5 separate regions of the Homo sapiens genome follow, and all the other regions are linked to region 2. Evidence: promoter capture Hi-C in 16 types of primary human blood cells and fetal thymus (Javierre and others, 2016). All regions are on one chromosome and are shown on one strand. Each heading gives the region's core, a stretch centred on a gene start or on the middle of the fragment in contact. The rest is flanking DNA. Distances are from core to core; before and after follow the strand shown. Region 1 has its middle 5.1 kb from the start of NBEAL1. Region 2 holds the start of INO80D (INO80 complex subunit D). Region 3 holds the start of WDR12 (WD repeat domain 12). Region 4 holds the start of FAM117B (family with sequence similarity 117 member B). Region 5 holds the start of NOP58 (NOP58 ribonucleoprotein).

What was found. The method cuts DNA at HindIII sites, captures the fragments that hold promoters and counts their contacts. A CHiCAGO score of 5 or more calls a contact.
Region 1: a fragment that was not itself captured here is called in contact with the fragment with the promoter of INO80D in region 2 in 2 of 17 cell types (fetal thymus and activated CD4 T cells); the score reaches 5.9 in fetal thymus.
Region 3: the fragment with the promoter of WDR12 here is called in contact with the fragment with the promoter of INO80D in region 2 in 2 of 17 cell types (total CD4 T cells and non-activated CD4 T cells); the score reaches 9.8 in total CD4 T cells.
Region 4: a contact is called between the fragment with the promoter of FAM117B here and the fragment with the promoter of INO80D in region 2, in 2 of 17 cell types (fetal thymus and total CD4 T cells). The highest score is 10.0, in fetal thymus.
Region 5: the fragment with the promoter of NOP58 here is called in contact with the fragment with the promoter of INO80D in region 2 in 2 of 17 cell types (fetal thymus and non-activated CD4 T cells); the score reaches 8.9 in fetal thymus.

What each region holds. Positions count from the first base shown.
Region 1 is chr2:203,008,435-203,011,134 of GRCh38, forward strand. No RefSeq gene overlaps it. Among named protein-coding and RNA genes, the nearest start is that of NBEAL1, 5.1 kb to the right of the region's middle. The HindIII fragment of the contact is 1,196 bases long and covers 779-1,974 here.
Region 2 is chr2:206,084,798-206,087,497 of GRCh38, forward strand. INO80D (INO80 complex subunit D) reads right to left here and starts at 1,377. Exons shown (of 11, transcript NM_017759.5): 1 at 1,104-1,377. INO80D-AS1 (INO80D antisense RNA 1) reads left to right here. Exons shown (of 2, transcript NR_186084.1): 2 at 1,160-2,700. RefSeq lists silencers at 108-402, 304-353, 394-593, 614-783, 864-1,073 and enhancers at 1,124-1,413, 1,140-1,959, 1,464-1,513, 1,524-1,633. The HindIII fragment of the contact is 4,007 bases long and covers 1-2,469 here.
Region 3 is chr2:202,910,226-202,912,925 of GRCh38, forward strand. It overlaps WDR12 (WD repeat domain 12), which reads right to left and starts at 1,448. Exons shown (of 13, transcript NM_018256.4): 1 at 1,211-1,448. The coding sequence starts at 1,251. It overlaps CARF (calcium responsive transcription factor), which reads left to right and starts at 2,050. Exons shown (of 17, transcript NM_024744.17): 1 at 2,050-2,700. RefSeq lists enhancers at 1,631-1,780, 1,791-1,940, 1,981-2,180, 2,281-2,330. The HindIII fragment of the contact is 1,677 bases long and covers 688-2,364 here.
Region 4 is chr2:202,633,524-202,636,223 of GRCh38, forward strand. It overlaps FAM117B (family with sequence similarity 117 member B), which reads left to right and starts at 1,446. Exons shown (of 8, transcript NM_173511.4): 1 at 1,446-2,265. The coding sequence starts at 1,665. RefSeq lists silencers at 1,484-1,713, 1,904-1,953, 2,054-2,493. The HindIII fragment of the contact is 4,588 bases long and covers 1-2,700 here.
Region 5 is chr2:202,264,320-202,267,019 of GRCh38, forward strand. NOP58 (NOP58 ribonucleoprotein) reads left to right here and starts at 1,444. Exons shown (of 15, transcript NM_015934.5): 1 at 1,444-1,667. The coding sequence starts at 1,623. The HindIII fragment of the contact is 14,423 bases long and covers 1-2,583 here.

The DNA of each region.
Region 1 (2,700 bases), core at 127-2,626, 3.1 Mb before region 2:
GGAACAGAGCCATATTTCTCTTCTTTCAAAAGCAAATGGGAGAAATATCACTGAATTCTTTTTCTCAGCAAGGAACATCCCTGAGAAGGAGAATGCGCCCCTGAGGGTGGGCCTCTAAAATGGCCCCCTTCGGTGTGGCCGTTTTCTATGTTCAAGACTGTAGGGATGAAATAAGCCCCAGTCTCCCATAGTGCTCCCAGGCTTATTAGGACGAGGAAATTCCCGCCTAATAAATTTTGGTCAGACCGGTTGCTCTCAAACCCTGTCTCCTGATAAGATGTTATCAATGACAATGGTGCCCGAAACTTCATTAGCAATTTTAATTTCGCCCCAGTCCTATGGTCCTGTGATCTCGCCCTGCCTCCATTTGCCTTGTGATACTCTATTACCTTGTGAAGTATGTGATCTCTGTGACCCACACCCTATTCGTACACTCCCTCCCCTTTTGAAAATCCCTAATAAAAACTTGCTGGTTTTACGGCTCAGGGGCATCACAGAACCTACCGACATGTGATGTCTCCCCCGGATGCCCGGCTTTAAAATTTCCCTCTTTTGTACTCTGTCCCTTTATTTCTCAACCTGGCCGACGCTTAGGGAAAACAGAAAAGAACCTATGTGACTATTGGGGGCAGGTTCCCCGATACTCAAGAGATATTTTAATATATTTTAAAATAAATGAAAATGAAAATACAACTGATGAAAATTTGAGGAATGTAGCCAAAACAAGAGGGAATTTTGTAGCATTGAATATTAGAAAAAAAAAGATCTAAAGTCAGTAAGCTTCTACTGTAGGAAACTAGAAAAAGAAGAGCAAATTAAATCCAAAGTAAGCAGAAGAAAAGAAATAACAAAAATTAGAGCAGAAATAAATGAAATTGAAAAAAGAAATTAATAAAGGTAATCAGCAAAACCAAAGGTGTTTTTTAGAAAAGATCAGAAAATCTGAATGCATATAGACAGGCTAGCTAAAAAAGTGTGAAAGTGTGGATAGAAGAGAAAGAGCTTCGATGGGATTTAGGAAAGGAATGTCAAAGAACAAAAACTTGACCATATGTCTCCAGATCTGCCCAAGGGAAACTGCTCTATCTAGCAGAACCAAGTATCTGCTCCGATTGGCAGGTTGCACATAGTGGAAATGGCTGCATGAAAGCTATTATAAAAGATGATACTACCATCACATTAATCCAATTAGTTGTACTTGTTATGACTCATGATGAAAAAGCAACCCTGAGAATATAATTTACTTCCCTATACATTTTTTTCTATGGGGAGATAATGCCCTGACCAAGAGATATGAATAGTCCAATTGCCTTGCCAGGGTTTTTTGTTTTTTTTGTTTTTTTTTTTTTTTAGACAGAGTCTTGCTCTGTCACCAGGCTGGAGTGTAGCGGCAAGTTCTTGGCTCACTGCAACCTCTGCCTCCTGGGTTCAAGAGATTCTCGTGCTTCAGCCTCCCAAGTAGCTGGATTTTACAGGCGTGCACCACCATGCCTGGCTAATTTTTGTATTTTTAGTAGAGATGGAGTTTCACCGTGTTGACCAGGCTGGTCTTGAACCCCTGTCCTCAAGTGATCCACCTGCCTCGGCCTCCCAAAGTACTGGGATTACAGGCATAAGCCACCATGCCCGGCTGGCAGGTATATTTTTTCATTGTTAATAAATTTAGTGGCATTCTAAGGTTATATCTGGTGAGATGAACTGAAACTCATAGCTCTGACATAAACTGAGACGCTGAGTGCAAGACCATTTAAATTAATGTGGAGGCCTTTTTCATGAAAATCAGGCCACATATATACTTTTAACATAAAAGGACAGGCTATTTTAGAAGCTGCTGGGTCATATAGTCTTATGAAAGAAAATGTTCTGAAGGCGGTAAATGTGTTTATCTTAAGGTACACTGGGAGAAAAAGTAGCTGTAGTTTCATTGGTAGAGAAACATCTCAATGTTGTTGAGGGGCTCACTCATGAAACCAAAGCTTATCCCCACTCCTGGGAGCCATCAGAAGCCTCAACAGAGGAATAATGTTGGCATCTAGCTGACACCTAGATGTTACCTAAATGCGGCAGAATTTGCCAGGCTTAAGAAGGGGCTGGGATCCACCCTTTCTTATTCTGTGAGTATAATGCGGACATTATAGAGGGGAATGGTTTAAAGACAGGACTATGGGGAAGAGACACAGGCGAACTGAGAACCAAGAAACTAGGGATTATCCAGGAGGGACATCTTATTAAACCCATGCAGTGTGGTGTTGTAATTATTGCCTTGTATGTGGTACAAAGGAAAGAATTATCTAAACAAAGGCATAACTCCTCATCTCCCCTTACTCTCTGTAGCTTTAGGGAACATTTGCACCCTTCAGAAAAATAACTACTTAATTCTCTACTAATATCCATTGGGTATTTTGTCTAAGGGAAAAGGGAAAGAAGATATTAAACTGGGGTAATCCTGGTTCACAGAAGTTTGATGGGCACCAGCCTTAGTTGAATTATCATACGGAAAAGAGAATCAACTAGTAGACTCCTAGAGACAATACGGGTAAGTTTTCTGAGTTTCTCCTTGTCAATGCATAGCTTGAGATCTCCTAGGAGACAGAAAGAAGGGACACACAGGTTACATGTTTTAGTTCTTTGTGTGTTTATTAAGGGTCAGTCCTCTGGAATCTTCCTATTTGCTGGCAAAGCTGAGGACTGCCTCTATGA
Region 2 (2,700 bases), core at 127-2,626:
AAAAAAGGCAATAGGGAAAGATTGTCCGGCAGAAACACCACCTGAGTTTACCTCCTCCTTCCCACCCCAAAAACCCAGTCACTAACTAATAAAGCTAAGAAAAGCCCCTTGCAAACTTTTCCAAACCGGAAGAGAAGGCCCTCTCCCCAACCTGGGGGGCTCTAGGGGGAAGGGGCTGGAGTTAGCAGCCCCGAATGGGCTCGCGGGGAGTTGGGTGGGGCGCGGGCGAGGGGTGCAGGGGCGGAGTACCTTCTTCAATGGACAGGAACTGGCAAAGAGTTTCAAAATAGCCGAGTGCGCTCCCCCACGCCCTGGGGGGTCCCGGGCGCTAGGACCAGGGCTCCCCGGAGAGACAGCGGCCCCCAGTTCGGGCCTAAAAGGAAACTTTCTGGGCCGCGGCTGCACCTGACTCCTCACCGCCCCTCCACCCGACCCCACGCCCGCCAGGCCGCCCGCCCCGCCCCGCCCCGGCCTGGCCGTCCGGAGCGCGGAGGAGGGGGATAAATAAATTCAACTCTTACCGGAATCTGGGGGCCGTCTGCGAGAGACCCGGGGGAAGGGGAGCCGGGCGCCCATTCCCCACTCCCCACTCCTAGGCCCTGACGCCCCTGTCCCGGCAGCCCGGGCCTGCCGCCCCGCGGGAAAGCCTCCGGGCCGGCGCGGGATTCGGCCCAGCAGCGCCGCCGTCCCACCCGGAGACCCCGGGGGACTCGAGGGGGCGCGCGGAGGCCCGGGGTGCGGGGGCAGGGCGCGGCTGCCGTGGGGCCTACCGGCCCGAGGCCTACCGGCGCCCCCCCCTCCCGCCGCACACCCCCACCTGGCCCGCGCAGGCCGCTCCGCTCGCCCCACTCCGGCTCCGGCTGGACCCCTGCCCGCCCGCCGTCGCCGCCCGCGGGCGCCCCGGAGGCCCTCAGGCCCCCGGCCTCCACCACCCGGGCGCCGGCCCCACTCACCCTTTCATTCTCCGCCCGGGGCCTGGCGTGGGCCGGCGAATCCCCGGCCTCACGTAAGCGCGCTCGCCGCCCGCCCAGCCTGCGCGGCCCAGCCCGCCGCCCTACGGGAGCCCGGGGATGTGGGCCGGGCCTGGGGCCGCCTCTGCTTACCTTTCAGCTGCTTTTTTTTTTCTCCTTCCCCCCTGTTCCCTCGGCTGGGCTGACAGATCAGAGTGAGAGGCGCTGGCAATGGACTAGGAAGCTCGGCTGCCGCTGCTACTGCTCCCCCCTGGGCTCCGGCGAGAGCCTTTCCCTGTCAAGCAAGAGGGGTGAGGATCATATTTTTATTTTGGAAACTAAAAAGTGCTCCCAGGGTCGGTGATTATTAAGGGGAAATCCCTGAATATACTCTCCAGCCAAGAAGGCAGGGCTGCCGGGGCTGTACAAGAAGAGGCAGCAGCCTCCTACAGCACCACTACAGGCACTGCGAGGACATAACACCAGAGAGCTGCTCCTCTGCCCTCCGAAACGACAACTTTCCTACCATCTTGGAGGCAGAGCAAAGGGGGGCCAGGGGGAAAAGTGCACCCGCTCCCGATAAAGTACAAATTTTTACTTCTCATCTCTGGAAAAAAGTCCACACCGGCCGTCTACACCCGCGCCTGGGGGAGAAAGCAGGGAAGAAACGGGGGGTGCATGAGAAACGTTTTCATTTGCTCCAGGGGGAAAAATGTTTCTGCATCTTCTGATGGAAAGAAATCTTTACAAGACACAGGTTTTCCGGTGGTTATTGTTTTTTATTTTCTGTTTTTAATTTTTTTCATGTTAGTGACAGTGATATTTTAATATTTTTTTAAGCCAGTAATAATTTTTCTCCATTACAGGGCTAAGTTCTGTGGCTGGTGGTCAGTTTGTAAATTTATACTTAAAGAGACTTAATAGTAACTTCATTTATTTGTCTGGTTATGTTATTGTATATATAAATATTTATGTTTTCATATATTGCATATAAAAATTTGTGTTACATGTTACTCTCAGAACAGATTGCTGTAAGACAATTGTAAAAAAACATGTCTTTCGTCTGTTTCTCAAAGCAATGTAAATAAAACCTATGGACTGTCCAGAAAGGCATGATACAGTGTGTCATTTTCCACAGTGCAGATAAAGGCAGCTATCACTGGGGATTTAAAAACGGCCCCTGTTTCTGGAAATTCTGTTATGCTGCCCATACAGAAAGGATACAGTAAAACTGGAAAGAGATTTTAAAGACAGCCTTAGATTTTTCTTGAGGTAAAATAGCTTATTAAGAATTATATCCGGGCATTTAATTTTTTTATTTATTTAGATTCTTTAAACTCTAGCTAGATCTTTGGTGCATTACACATGTTGCTATCTGCTTTTTGTGTCACAGAATTGAGAAATGTGGCTATTTTTGTTAGTTATGTTAGTTCAGAACTTCCAATGTGCTGCCAGCCTGTATGATAGACTTTTTGTATATTGCAGTGGATGTCATGAATTTACTTTTTTAAATGAGCAAAGCTTACTAGATAAATGGGATCAGAGTTAAACAATGCTGTTAGCACAGAGGTGAGAGGGACAAAGGGTACCCATTTACATCGATTCCAATAGAACGCTTATTGGAGGATAAATTGCAGAGACATTTTTCTATTTTTGTGAAGAAAGAGAAAAATAATAGAAAAAGAACCGACTATCTTTGTATGTTCTACTGGGGATGATGATTTAAATCTTGTATTAAAAGTTATTTTTC
Region 3 (2,700 bases), core at 198-2,697, 3.2 Mb before region 2:
CAACAATTATCTCAAGGCTGGACGCAGTGGGTCATGCCTGTAATTCCAGGACTTTGGGAGACCGAGGTGGGCGGATCACTTGAGGCCAGGAGTTCGAGACCAGCATGGCCACCAAGACAAATTCCTGTCTCTACTAAAAATACAAAAATTAGCCAGGCTTGGTGGCACATGCCTGTAATTCCAGCTACTCTGGAGGCTGAGGCGGGAAGATTGTTTGAACCCGGGAGACAGAGGTTACAGTGAGCCAAGATCCCACCACTGCAGTCCAGCCTGGGCAACAGAGTGAGACTCTGTCTCCAAAAAAACCAAACCAAACAAACAAAAAAAAGCCCCACATATTTCAAAAAATTTTATTTTAAGAAAAACAAAAAAACCTACTTTCAATTAAAAAACACAGTGGTTATGTTAATGCATCACCACATTCCTAGAGAAGTATTAAGGCAATGTATGTAAGTAAGTACATATACTCAGGTGCATTGATAATACGATTTATGTATACTTTCAGCAACAACACAAGGGGAGAGAAGATGATTTACTAGCTCTCCTCATAAAGCTACAAACAAAACCACAGATGTAACTCAGGTGGGAGTTTCCTAGTTTATGGCTAACTTTAGCTTATTAACACGACAAATATTATCATTTTCACTGAAAAATTTGACATTTTTTGTTGACTCAGCCAATCCAAGAAGCTTAATTAATATATAGTCCCTGCCCTCAAGAGACTTCCAATATAGTTGGAAGAGACCAGGCAAACACAAAGAAAGCTAACAATGCAATATATACCACAAGGCAGCATATAATTAGTTTTCGAATGAGTGCTAACAGACCTTGAGACCACTGGTTAAAATGTTTATATATCTATATAGATATACATAAATGGTAAATATGTTTTTTCATTTTCAAAAACTTTTTTTCCGTTTTCAAAAACTGTGAACCACCACTAGCAGACACCCTATAACAAGGCCCACTGTTCATTTTTAAATTACACATATAAAATGTTTCATTCAGAAAGCAAACCTGAAGCCCTTCAGCCTCCTCCACACTCACAATTCAAATTATATAGAACCTACGAAGCTGGTTAGAAAGCAGGTAATCTCAGAAAAAAGGGTGGGGGTGACAGCAGAAACAACCAGGGATCCACAAGGTCATACCAAAGGGGTGGTCGGAAAGGAACCTGGGGAAGGGAGAGAAGGCTGGAACGCTTACTTACTTCTTGTTATCAGTGTAGAAGCGTGTTTGGAGCTGAGCCATGGCGAGGAGTACACACGACTTGCCCACGGAAACGTACGGGTTAGCAGACCCACAACACGAAGCTCCTGCCTTTTAAGACTACAAAGAGGCAGCTCAAAATTAGACTGCACAGGTAAGCGAGGAACTGCAGTCTAAGCCTGGACTCTGCCTTCTGCCCTCCGGTCTCCTCTGCAGAAAGCACGAGGTTGCCCTTCTACAGACGCCCAGACCACAAACATCGACTACCTACTCCTAGATTTAGGAGTCATCGATTAGAAAAGGATAGTCGTAAAGGTAGCATGTCCCTTTAATCATTGTTAGAATTCTTCCCATACGTGTGGGCCCGTAATCGATTAGGAAAAAGATCCCACTCAAATCCGCTTTATTAATAAAAAATTTTTTTTCAAGAGGCTGTCCTGAGCCTGGATAGTTCAAACACAGCTCCTAGTTACTACAAGTCTCAGAAAGCATCGCTTCTCAAACGCTGTGACCACCGGGAATTGTAGTCTTTTTTTGCCACGCTGCCCTCAGAGTATCTTATTTGCATTAAATCCTCTAGACTCCAGCCAGATATCAAATTTCCTCTGCCTTCAGCTTTGCTTGACTAACGCCTTGCCAGTTTTTTTTTCTCATACATATTCCCAACCAGAGGCTCACTCGGCAGAGGTTTTTCCTAAATCTCGCCTCTAACTGCGGCTTTTAGAGAGAGGCGAGAGGCGGAAATACAAAGAAAAGAACGGATGAGAGAGGAAACGGTCGACGGTGGCCGATAGTGGTCCTACTGTCGTGGGACTGCTCTGCGCGCTCCCGGTGGGGCGCGCCTGCGCATTATGCTGGTCTCCATGGCGGGGCCTCGGAGCCAAGACGAGGTTGAGTAGACTCGTTTTGAATTTTCTCCCCTCTGCTCCGGCGGACTTCCCATGTCGCCTTGTGGGGCTATCGGCGGCGGCAGGACTGGGGGAGTCAGAGGTCTGGCAGCGCTGTCTGCGCAGACCTACCGGACGCTACCTCCCAACCCCCCGTCTTCCTCCTGCCTCCTCCTCCTCCCGTCACCTCCTGACCCGCCGGAGCTCCGAGCAACTGCCGGCCTCCGCCCCCAGCCGCAGCCGGTCACTGGCGGCGCCTTCCGCGCCAAGCTTGGGGGCCTTTTCGGGGTCCCACATGGCACGGCTTCCGACCCCCGGCCCGGGACGGGGCTCGCAGGCCCCAGAGGGGCAGGCTGGAGAAGGAGGAGGTTAGGTGTCTTCAGGAGGGTTGCTGAGCCCAAGGACGCGCCATCGCCGCGGAGAAGGAGCCGGACCCCTTGGGCGGAGCGCCCAATGTGTGGTCCCTCACGCCGTCCCGCACCTTGCTTTTTAGGGTTCTTTTTCCGCTTTCTGAGCCCTTTTATACCTTACGTTTAGAAGGGGAAAATCATCCTCCCACACCTTCTCCCCGACTTTTTGCCTTTTTTGTCTTGAAGTTACCCAA
Region 4 (2,700 bases), core at 196-2,695, 3.5 Mb before region 2:
GCCTTCCACCTCACGCCTGTAATTCCAGCATTTTTGGAGGCCGAGGTGGGCGGATCATGAGATCAAGAGATCAAGACCACCCTGGCCAACATGGTGAAACCGCCTCTTTACTAAAAACAGAAAAATTACGGGGCGTGGCGGCACGCGCCTGTAATCCCAGCTACTTGGGAGGCGGAGGCAGGAGAATTGCTTGAACGCGGGAGGCGGAGGTTGCACTGAGCCGAGATTCGAGCCAGTGCACTCCGCCACTGCACTCCAGCCTAGGTGACAGAGAGAGACTTCTTCTCAAAAAAAAAAAAAAAAGGCCTTCCACCACCGCGCAAAGGGACCCAGTAGGATTTCAGGTCCAGAGTGAATCATACTATGCCCTCCACTCCCACATTTTTACACGACGAAATCTGTCTAGCATGTACAACTAATAAAAATAGTAGAGGGAAAAGAGGTCATGGATAGGCAATTTATAGCCAGACAGGTGGGAGTGTAGGTTTTGGCTCCACCATTTTTTATTTTCTTGATGAGGAGCCCTTTAGGTCATTTTAGAAATAGTGTCACTGCCTGCCTTCCCGAGTCTTTGCCACACCAAAGACTTGTTTCCTCCGCTAGACAAAAATATGGATGGCTGTCCCAGTTCTGTCTCAAACAATGATCGTGTAGAATCAAATAAGGCCCTCTGTAAACTATAGCACTTTACAAACTGGTAAGGTAGCAGCCATCCTTCCAAGGTATCAGGGAACAGCGAAGCAGCTGATTAAAATAGTCTTGATTACTTGAGATACAGGAGGGTAGGAATAACATGTGGTAACTGAACTCTATAGATACTATCTAAAATCGCATTCTAACAGGCAAGTTTAATCTTTCTGAGATTTGCCTCTTTGTAGAGCTCTAAAAAATAAAAGGAGAGGGGCGTAAAATGCCAGTAAGATTAGTTAAATTTCTTCTCCTTTTGAGCCCTGCCCATAGGTAGATGGAATTAGGGCAGAACAAAAACATTAAGAATAAAAGCCCGAACGAGATGCGCGTACAGGTGAACACAAGTGAACACTGGGGTAAGGAAATGAGTTATGCGGAAAAGGCTTCAGACCATCCCTGGGAACTGCTCCGGGTCTGGACATTTCCTTTGGCAACCTTCCAGAGTCTGAGTCCCCAGGGCTCCCCCCGGCGGGAAAGGAAAGGCGCGCGTGGCTAGGCGCGCGCGTACACGGGCACTCACGTGTACACACACACGCGCGCACACTACACATACACACAGGGCCCATTTCCTCCGCTCCCTCCCCGCGGGGGGCGGGTCTCTTTCTCTTTAAAGAGCAGACGGTCTCCGCGCACACCCAGGCTCTCAAGGCCTCGGGGGCCCGGGACCCGAGCTGCTCGTAGCCAATGGGAGCAGTGGAGCGGCTCGAGCGCGGCTGACGCTGCACCAATGGGCGATCGTGGGGGGCGGGGGCAGCAGAGGAGACACTATTGTTGATGAGGAGCGGCGGCGGCGGCGGCGGCGGCTGCACCACCTCGTTGCTGCCTGCCCCGGCCCGGTCTCCCCCTGCACCCCGGAGTCCGGCTTCGTCACCCCGTCTTGGGGGGCCTGCCCTCCGGCCTCGAGAATCCTCCCCCTGCAGCCCAACAACAACAAAACCCCCCGTCTCGCCCAGTCACCGGGGAGGGGGGGGACCATGTCCCAGCGGGTGAGGCGCAATGGGTCCCCCACGCCGGCCGGCTCCCTTGGGGGTGGTGCGGTGGCCACGGCCGGGGGACCCGGGAGCCGCTTGCAGCCCATGAGGGCGACGGTTCCGTTCCAGCTGAAGCAGCAGCAGCAGCAGCAACATGGCAGCCCCACGCGGAGCGGCGGCGGCGGCGGCGGCAACAACAACGGTGGCTGCTGTGGTGGCGCCTCAGGCCCCGCAGGCGGCGGCGGCGGCGGTGGCCCGCGCACCGCCTCGCGCAGCACCAGCCCCACGCGCGGCGGCGGGAACGCGGCCGCGCGCACCAGCCCCACGGTGGCCACGCAGACGGGCGCGTCCGCGACGTCCACGCGAGGCACCAGCCCCACGCGCAGCGCCGCGCCTGGAGCTCGCGGGAGCCCCCCACGGCCGCCGCCGCCGCCGCCGCTGCTGGGCACCGTGTCGTCGCCCAGCTCGTCGCCCACCCACCTGTGGACCGGCGAGGTGAGCGCGGCCCCACCCCCAGCCCGCGTCCGGCATCGGAGGAGGTCTCCGGAGCAGAGCCGAAGCTCGCCGGAGAAGAGGAGCCCCAGCGCCCCGGTTTGCAAAGCAGGTAAGTGCTGGGGGTCGCGCAGCAAGGGGGAGGCGGCTGCGGGAAGGGGTCCCGGGCGCGCGCTGCAATCGCGCGGGGACTGCAGAGCTGCCGCGGAGCCCGGGTGGCTGGGGGCGGGGCTGGGGGCGGTGCCGGGCGGTGGGGGACCCGGCAGTGCGGCCCCGCCTTTCCCGGGCCTACCCTACGCCCCGCCCGCCCGCCCGCCTCATTCACCCCTCTGCCCGCCCCGCACGGCTCCCTGGTGGTGGAGGTGCAGCGGCTAAACCTTGGGCTTGAGCTGATGAGTGTTAATGATAAACCTGGCTTCCTGGCCTTACTCCTGGAGGAGTCGTTACTGCTTACCCTCCCTTGAGGGTGAGGCTAGGAGTGGTTTGTCACTTTGTTTTAGGGACAAGGTTAATGTTGGCATAGCCCATATCTGCTGCTGCTAAGTAT
Region 5 (2,700 bases), core at 194-2,693, 3.8 Mb before region 2:
AAATTCATACCCTGGGGTCATTTTAACAAATGCAGCAAAAATAGGAGAGGCTTATTGAAAGAAAACTGTGCTAATAATTCATTTGGCCAGACAGAAGGGAACGGCCAGGAATGCTCACAAATATAGTGACAGTAATGGTGTCATTCTGAGGCCTTCGCCTCAAGGCAGGGCTTGAAAGGGGATAAAGTCTAATGGCACTAGCTGGCATTTCAAATTCTAGATGCCTGAGGCAGACTGGCACCGAAACAGCTCCTCGTTTCTCTCAAAGTGAACATATAATTCATAGAGGGTTAACAAAATAATATCGTGAAGTTTTTCCCCTTTAAATCTCTAGCGGTGGCGGGGCGCGGTGGCTCACGCCTGTAATCCCAGCACTTTGGGAGGCCGAGGTGGGAGGATCCCTTGAGGTCAAGAGTCCGAGACCAGCCTGGGCAACATCGTGAAACCCTGTCTCTACAAAAAATTAGCTGGGTGTGGTGGCACAGGCCTGTAGTCCCAGCTGCTCCGGAGGGTGAAGTGGGAGGATCGCTTGAGCCTGGGAGTTGGAGGTTGCAGTGAGCCGTGATAGTGCCACTGCACTCCAGCTTGGGCAACAGCCAGACTGTCTCAAAAAAAAAAAAAAAAAAAAAAAAAAAAAAAAAAAAGGCCGGGCCTAGTGGGTCACGCCTGTAATCCCAGCACTTTGGGAGGCCGAGGCGGGCGTATCACGAGGTCAAGAGATCGAGACTATCCTGGCCAACATGCTGAAACCCCATCTCTACTAAAAATACAAAAATTAGCTGGGCGTGGTGGTGTGTGCCTCTAGTCCCAGCTACTGGGGAGGCTGAGGCAGGAGAATTTCTTTTTTTTTTTTTTTTTTTGAGACGGAGTCTCGCTCTGTCGCCCAGGCTGGAGTGCAGTGGCAGGATCTTGGTTCACTGCAAGCTCCGCCCCCTGGGTTCAGGCCATTCTCCTGCCTCAGCCTCCCGAGTAGCTGGGACTACAGGCGCCTGCAACCACACCCGGCTAATTTTTTGTATTTTTAGTAGAGACGGAGTTTCACCGTGTTAGCCAGGATGGTCTCGATCGATCTCCTGACCTTGTGATCCGCCCGCCTCGGCCTCCCAAAGTGCTGGGATTACAGGCGTGAGCCACTGCGCCCGGCTAGGAGAATTTCTTGAACCCGGGAGGCGGAGGTTGCAGTAAGCCGAGATCACACCACTGCACTCCAGCCTGGGTTACAGAGCGAGACTCCGTCTCCAAAAAAGAAAAAAAGAAAAAAGAAAAAAAGGCGCAAAGGCTCCGTTCAGGCCCTAGATCCCGCGATACAAACTTTCTCGGCCCGCCCCAGCCCGCTGTGGCGGGAACATTCTGGAAGTGACGGCAATCTCTGCGGCAGTCTTCTGTCGGAAGTGACGTTGCTATCCCAGAATCCTCAGAGAAGGAGTAGCGCGTTCGTGCGTCCTAGTTCCAGTACAGCGTGGAGGGTTTAGGCAGCGTGTTCTGATTCTTTGCGGGACGGCGAGCGCATTTGTGCTTTGCCCGCCGCGGCCTAGGAGGCCTTTTGAGGCCGCGTAGTCGGTGTTTTTGAACTGACTCTACAGCTTCTGGCAGGCCGTGCGGCGCCCTGACCCGGCCTCACCATGTTGGTGCTGTTTGAAACGTCTGTGGGTTACGCCATCTTTAAGGTAGGTGGGAGAGCGAGCCGTTAAAGGGGGAAGGCGGATGCTGGACAGACGAGGAGAGGGAAAGACTTAAGCACGGAACTACTCAGAGTAGCGTGGGTGCCTGTTATAGCCCGGGCTCTGGGAGGAGGGAGAAGGCCTTTACACCTGAGAGCCATGTTACGTGTAACACGTGGCCCCGCCGTTTGGGGAGACCCGTTCTGCATTAGAGGATTTTATTTCCTCCCGTTGAAGGGGTGGGCAGGAGGCGTGTTAGAATTTAACAGATTATAGGGAATTCGGACTTTATTCTAGATGTTTTGAGGAATGATCGAAAGATTTTTTTTTTTTTTGAGATGGAGTTTCGCTCTTGTTGCCCATGCTGGAGTGCAGTGGCGCAATCTTGGCTCACTGCAACCTCCGTCTCCCGGGTTCAAGCGATTCTCCTGCCTTGGCCTCCCGAGTAGCTGGGATTACAGGCCTCCATCCACCACCACGCCTGGCTAGTTGTTTTTGTTTGTTTGTTTGCTTTTAGTAGAGACGGGGTTTCACCATGTTGGCCAGGCTGGTCTTGAACTCCTGACCTCAAGCGATCCACCTGCCTCGGCCTCCCAAAGTGCTGGGATTACAGGCGTGAGCCACCGTGCTCGGCCAATCGAAAGGATTTAAGCAGAGGAATGACCTGCTAATTTGTCTTAATACGGTTACTCTGCTGTGTGGAGATTAGACTCGAGGAGATAAGAACGGCAGCAAGAATACTTTTGCATTCATTTGGACAAGATGAAATTGCCTGGTATGGAGAGAAACAAATATCGATAGAAATTGTGAAGGTAGAACAGGAAGGACTGGCTAATAGATTGAATGTGGGGTTTTGGTTTAAATAAGATGTTAAGAAAGTTTCTTGGGGAAGGACTAAAGATTTCCGGTTTGGGCTGTGCGAAGCTTGCGTTGTCTATTAGACCTGATAATGCAGTTGTGTAGATCGGGCAGTTCAGTATTTCAGATTTGAAGCTTAGGGGAAAACATCTGGGCTGGTGATGTCAGTTTGAGGTTTGGT